2 separate regions of the Homo sapiens genome follow, and region 1 is linked to region 2. Evidence: promoter capture Hi-C in 16 types of primary human blood cells and fetal thymus (Javierre and others, 2016). All regions are on one chromosome and are shown on one strand. The core of a region is centred on a gene start or on the middle of the fragment in contact, and the rest is flanking DNA. Distances in the headings are between cores, read along the strand shown. Region 1 has its middle 85 kb from the start of LINC02535. Region 2 holds the start of CYB5R4 (cytochrome b5 reductase 4).

Region 1 (3,416 bases), core at 93-2,592, 1.5 Mb before region 2:
TTTTTCTTTGTAGGTGCTTCTTGCTTGAAACAAGAGGATCTTGTGGCTTGATAAAATGTTTGGAATACCCAAGGAGGGCCTCCTTTTGAAGGCTTATGCAGTGCAGCCTCTCTCAAGATCTCAGTTTACTCAGAGAAGAAAGGTGAACTGCATTTGTTCCAAGTAAAATATACATCTGTATTATTCACCATCACACCCCTATTCCATTACAAACAAATACTGACCTTGTTCTTCTGATGTGAAGCCAGAGGGAGTGTGAAATATAGCAAGGAGAACAGTCTGATGCAGAAATATGAAAGTTCCAAGCAACAGAAACGCGGTATTTAAAAGGAGTAGAGAAGGGCCCCAACTTGGTCTTTCTAATTCCTTCTCTGCAGCTGACCCTGGGGAAAGTAACTCAATAGTTATCAGTCGCTTTGGGGAAACTGCCTACATTAGTTCAGATTGCCAGTTGGATTTTTTCACTCTAGGATCTATGTGTTGGTAGTCTCTCTGTTTTTTCTTTTGGCCTTAAGAACTTCTCTTGAGAACGCTCTGTGTGTGTGTGTGTGTGTGTGTGTGTGTGTGTACATGAACTTTTGACCTAAGTACTAGAAACCAGTTTCCATTTGGATGCCAAGCACGTTTCCTCCTTTTAGCAGGGCTGGGAGCTACCGCTTTGTGATTTCTCTCATCACGATGTTCTAGGAAAAGGCTTTTGAATGGTGGAGAAACTCAGCTAACATTACATTAGAAGAAAGACGGGGAACACAGTTTGGGAGAATATGTACAAGATATGAGATTTTGATGTTCAATGAAAACCATACCCAATGTTTTCTCTTGTAAAGTGGGGTAAGATGAGGATTAAATGAGATAATATAGTTGTTTCTCCTACAGTGCCATATACATCTTTCTAAAAAATAAATGTAATGTAGAATTTCATGCAATAAAAATGATGAGCCTTCTGGGAAAAATTTAATTGGGTGAAACACAACACCTGTATAGTCTAGTAAGGAATACTCTTCTAAAACCCTAATAAAAGCTTTAAAAATCTCAAGTCCCTTATAAAATTTAAAAAATACCATGGTACATAAGTGCTTCACCTTACAGAAAGCACAAGGTTTGCTTGGTGAGTCGTAAGTGCACAGTGGGGGCTTCTGAGTTATGGAGAAGGAGGAAAATAGTAGGACAAAATGCTATTGCACTAAAGGTGCTATGGTTTGTCCTGTTTACCTTTTACATTAATTTAAAATAGAAATGCAGAAGTTGTTGTTAGGCCATTTTCTCCTTTCTTTAAGAAGCTGCATATATGGCCTCAAGTGATATGGGAGACTGCTAGGCAGTGGGTGCTTTGCTCAGTGGGGTAATTGTTTTCAATACCTGTGGGTGCACATCAGCCCAATTATAGTGGCATATTTCCCTCTGGTGACAGTTACTGGACTTTTGTTATCATGGTCTACATCATCATCAACATTATTTATACCTTCCTCAGGCTTAATCAAGAGATGTTGCAGCTCTCATAGTTGTTCCTGCTGAATAGCTTTCTTTTATTTGAGATGTATTGTCACTGATGGCACACAATATGGATTCTGTTAGATCTCTTGTTCTTGTGCTATCACAAGTTCTCTTGTGTATTTGTAAATGTTTCAGTGTTCCAAAAAATGTTTTGTTGTTTTAAGCTTCTTCTCAAGACTTAAGGCATTCCCTTCTCATTTGCTACTTGGATTCATCTGCTCAGGATGCTTATTCCTGTTTGGGATGTTGGAGTAAATATTTTTAGCAAGAAAGTTTGAGAGGACAGCACTGTATACACACTCATAGGGCAAAGCCTGCAGGTCAAGTGGGGTAAGGGAGAAAAGATGAGGAGGTGTGTTTGTGTTTCTCCCATGGTCATTGCATTCAAGGGGTCGGCATTTCTTCATTTACTTGGTGCTGCTAGGTGGTGTAAATCATAGTCACCTTGTAAAACATTGCATATGAGCTATCATGATTTTGTGTCTTGGGGACTGTATCCCTGATTTATCTACATCATATGAATGAATATGCACAGTACAGAGAATGTAATGGCCTATCTTTTGTATTAGGCCATTCTTGCACCGCTATAAATAGATACCTGAGACTGGGTAATTTATAAGAAAAGAGATTTAATTGGCTCACAGTTTTGCAGGCTATACAGGAAGCATGGTGCTGGCATCTGCTTGGTTTCTAAGGAAGCCTCATGAAGTTTGAAATCATGGCAAAAGACAAAGTGGAAGCAGCACTTCACATGGTGAAAGCAGGAGCAAGGGAGAAAGAATGGCTGGCCAGGGGGAGGTAACATATACTTTTAAACCAACAGATCGTGTGTGAACTGAGTGAAAGCTCACTTATCACCATGGGGCCCAAGACATACATGAAGACATACATCCCCATGATCTAAATACCTCTTGTCTGGTCCCCTCTTGTCCCCCAAATTTCATATCCTTCTCATATTGCAAAATACAATAATTCCTTCCCAACAGTTTCCCAAAGTCTTAACTAATTCCAGCATTAATTCAAAAGTCCAAAGTCCTAATTTTTATCTGGAGATGAGTTACTTCCACCTTTGAAGCCATAAAATCAAAACAAGTTATTTACTTCTAAGATACAATGAGGGTGTAGGCATTGGGTAAACATTTTCATTCCAAAAGGGAGAAACTTTCCAAAAGAAAGGGGCTAGAGGCCTGATGCAAGTTCAAAACCCAGCAGGGCAGTCATTAAATCTTAAAGCTTCAAAATAGTCTCCTTTGACTTCATGTCTCACATCCAGGGCACATTGGTGCAAGGCAAGGGTTCCAAGGTATTGGGCAGCTTCACTGCTGTGACTTTGCAAGGTTCAGCCCCCAGGGCTGCTATCACAAATTAGAATTGTGTGCCTCTGGCTTTTTCAGGCACAGGGCACAAGCCACTGGTGGATGTACCATTCTGGGGTCTGGTGGAGGGTGGCCCCCTTCTAACAGCTCTACTAGTCAGTGCTCCAGTGGGGACTTTGTGTGGGGCCCTCAATCCTACATTTCCTGCCCCCCTGCACTTCCATATAGAGGTTCTCTGTGAGGGCTTCACCCCTGCAGAAAGCTTCTGCCTGGACAAACGGGCTTTTTTATACATTCTCTGAAATCTAGGTAGAGGGTGCCAGGCCTTTGTGCTTGCGTTCTATGTGGCTTCAGGCTTAACACAACATGGAAGCCACCAAGGCTTATGGCTTACACCCTCTGGAGCTGTGGCCTAAGCTATATTCGGGGTCCTTTAAGCCACAGTTGGAGCTGGAGCAGCTGAGATGTGGGAAGCAGTGTCCTGAGGCTGTATAAGGTAGTAGGGGCCCTGGGCCTGGCCCACAAAACCATTCTTCTCTCCTAGGCCTCTGGGTTTATGATACGAGGGGCTGCTGGGAAGGTTTCTCAAATGCTTTTGAGACATTT
Region 2 (3,589 bases), core at 781-3,280:
CAGTAGCTCAGGGCACAAGGCAGGAACCGACCTTGGACAGGATGCCATCCTATGGCAAGGCACACTCATACACACCCAATATTCACACAGACTGGGACCATTTAGACACACCAATTAACCTAACTTGCATATCTTTGGGCTGTAGCAGGAAACCAGAGTACCCAGAGAAAACCCACGCAGACACAGAGCATGCAAACTCCAAAGACAGTGGCCCTGGCCAAAACGAATTTTTTTTCTCATCAATATTATAACTAAATGCTGTTGAATGAAACAACACTATTTGAGAACCTTTTGTATAATACACGACCTTCCCAACTTGGTTCTATTTTCTCAACCTCTACCCATTTCATCCAAACCTGACTCAGTTTTTACATTCTCAGCATCATCTTGTTTCACAAAGAAAAGAGGAAGAAGACTGGAGTCTGACTTTTCCTTAGAATTGCACAATAATCTTATTTTGTTCTCTTTTTGGACCAAAAACTCACCTTTGCCATCGCCCCCTGTGTGACTTTTTGTCTTTGCTTCTAAGTTTTCTCCTTTAAATGGATGCTAAGAACACAGTTGGTATTTTTAACGAAGAAGGGCAGTAACTCATATTCTAATTCAGAGATTCTTTCTGGAAAGACTGTTATTCAGTCAAGTATTTAGCTTCAAGAAATAGGTCAAAAACCAATGAGAAAAATATACATGATTGGATGGCTAGATGATTGATATATGAATCAGTAAATGAAATTTCACAGCAGAACCACAACACAAGCCTACGCAATTTAGGGCAATATTTCTTAGCCAGTTTCCTTTTCTGCGAAATAGAGACAATAAAAGCTTTCACTTCAAAGGATAATTGTGAAAATTAAAGTTAATACATGCAAAGCACTGAGAATATACACGGCCACCCGTAAGTACTTAAGAAATCTCTGGAAAGCTAATGAAAACCACAGATCCCTGAACCTATATTCATTCTGAACTAGAATCAGAACGCCAGGTCTAAGTGGAGAAAAATAAGAAAATCGATAAGGGTTCCAAACGATGCTAAGACTCAAGAGTTAACCGAGTGGCCCAAGTTAAGTGGAAGTGTCACAAACGAAAGATAAAGATATGGTTACAGAATGAGGAACTAACAAATAGGAACAAACAACATTCGCAAAAGAACAAAGAACACAATTTTTATTGAATTCTGCAAATATAAAATATATCTGTACAGTATTCCACCTGTTGCTAACAGCAACTGTGCTCAACAAGAACTCAAGAGTATTATTATATTTGCTTCGAAGTTAGCAAGTGATACTAGTAGAAAAGGCAATGACAAAACAATCAGGTACCAGAGGAAGAAAGAAAGGCAGTATGTCTTGGATAGTGTCTGTAAACCTGACCTAGCTCCCCAACTCCAGAAGTCCCCATCCTTGCACGGACGGTCACTGTCGCCACTGCCAAGCCTTTCCCTCCTGCGAGGGAACCCACATCGAGTGATGTGGTACAACTCCTTCAGGCAGTGAAGAACAAAAGACCAGGGAGAAGATGAGGTTGAGGGAAGGCGGCTAATACCGAGAGCCTATAATACCGCAAACACAGTGCCTGGCTCTGTCATATAAATTTAAATCGCGGGAAAGGACTTGGAGGAAGGGAACGGATAGAGCGGGATAAAGGACCAGAAAGAAGAGGGACTGCTAGGGGAAAGGGAGGAGGTAAGGAGAGTTTAGGGACTGTAGACAAAGTGGGATCAGAAAGAGGTTGCAGGCAAGGACAGCAGGGAACGACAGCTTAGAGAGGGGTGCAGGAGCTGGGAGTTGGGGCGGAAGAAGAGAACACACTGCCAGAGCTCGAAACGCAGCGAGGGGAGAGACTCACGGAGCCACCCGCTTACCTTGCTACGCCCCCCGGAGGCGACACGCTGCTGCGACCTGGGGGCCGGGAAAGACTGGGAAGGGACGTTCAGCATCTTCAAACCCCGGCCCCGGGCCCTGCCCGGGGATCGCCGCCAGACGGGACAGCACCTCCAGCTCCGGCTCTGTGGCCGGGCAGAGGCCAAGCCCCCGACCCACTTCCGGGGTCGCCAGGGGTGAGGCGCATTCTGACGCAGCACGTCCGCGGAGGGCGGAGCCAACGGGACGGAGGGAGGGCCGGCAGGGAGGAAGTACGCATGCTCAGCTAGTTCCGCATCCCGAACTTCAGCACCGGAGCAAGGTGACAGCTATTTCGTGGAAAGATTAGAGAGTGAAGCTGTTCCTTAGCCTTGGTGCTGACCGAATGTGGGAACAAATTCTTAGTCCTGTTAACCCGGAACAGCAATGTCTGTTCATTGTTAAGCAGTACCATCACACTACTTGAAATATGGACTAAAACACACTACTTGAAATATGGACTAAAACGAATTTTAGTTTCTCTGAAATTCTTTCCTGTAAGGCACTAGGCTGTAATGCAAAGAGCATCTCACACCTTTAAGAGCAAAAATATCAAATGTCAACAGCCACTACTGTGGGGTAAGAAGAAAACCTCACCTTTAATCATCCTTAAACTTCACCTTTAAGCATGCTGAGGGCTAATGAATGCGCGAAAGACGTTAGTAAAGTCACCTTCTGCTCTATTCACCCACTCACAAATTCTCCCTCCTTATGTAACTTCCTGTCTTCACTGGGAATTGTGTACTGATGCAGCTCACCTCCAGCTGTGGTGATGAAGTAACGTTTAAAAGTCAGATTTGGTTTGCATGCCATCCCTGCACTTAATGACTGAGCTGTCTTATGCAAGTTACTTTAGTATCTCAAAGTCTCATTTTCCCCATCTGCATAATGGGTTTATTAAAGATTAAAGGATCATGTGTAAACTACATACTGCAGTGCCTGATTAATATTAGGTACTGAATAAGTGGCAGTGGCTGTTTGTGCTATTCCAACATATTAATGGGAAAAGGACCAACACTGTGCAGGTAAACACCAGGCTCTAATGCTCAAAATCTGATGGTTTTTGTTTGTTTGATTGATTGTTTTGTGTGTCCCTTGGGGAACACATAGATCTTGAGAGTAGAATCCAATAAGGGAGAAAGTTTTCAGGAGAAGAAACATAGTTCTAAATAATCCTCCCCATCCTCCTTTAATTACTAATTTTTCCTAACTCTGAACATATTGTCATGCTTTAAACTTTCTCTGTTTAACTACTTAGTTCTTAAAGTGCCTAAAAAATCAAGGTTATGTTTGCAGAATCAGAAGAAAAAGTGTGTGACTATATGTGGCCATTCAAATACAAGCATTCAAATAAGGTAGCCACCTATGACATTCACCTCTATCCATTTTTATTTGCAATTGAAATGCTTATTATGAGAAGACTGAATTTGAGCTAAAAGAACCTCATGACTATAATTAACTGTATTACTTTGACTTTGCAAATTGCTTCTGTGTTCTCTCTCATTAAATGATGACATATTCTTCTAGAGTCTACACAAGAAAAACTAATCACTGAGATTTATTTCACTTCTCGTGAGAAAACTTTTACATAAGAATATCAAAAGCAGAGAACCAGAGCAAGGAAAAGTTAATATTGTTGAAGAATGTTCCATGCTTTCCAAATTTCTTAGCTCCCCTTTGTACAGAAATGG

The links. Contacts are between HindIII fragments. The CHiCAGO score rates a contact against its expected background, and 5 or more counts as called.
Region 1: a fragment that was not itself captured here is called in contact with the fragment with the promoter of CYB5R4 in region 2 in 1 of 17 cell types (naive CD8 T cells); the score reaches 6.7 in naive CD8 T cells.

The regions. Positions count from the first base shown.
Region 1 is chr6:85,317,930-85,321,345 of GRCh38, reverse strand. No RefSeq gene overlaps it. Among named protein-coding and RNA genes, the nearest start is that of LINC02535, 85 kb to the left of the region's middle. The HindIII fragment of the contact is 637 bases long and covers 1,024-1,660 here.
Region 2 is chr6:83,858,130-83,861,718 of GRCh38, reverse strand. CYB5R4 (cytochrome b5 reductase 4) reads right to left here and starts at 2,030. Exons shown (of 16, transcript NM_016230.4): 1 at 1,862-2,030. The coding sequence starts at 1,936. All of the region lies in intron 3 of RIPPLY2-CYB5R4 (RIPPLY2-CYB5R4 readthrough), which reads right to left. RefSeq lists a silencer at 1,910-1,959. The HindIII fragment of the contact is 3,476 bases long and covers 825-3,589 here.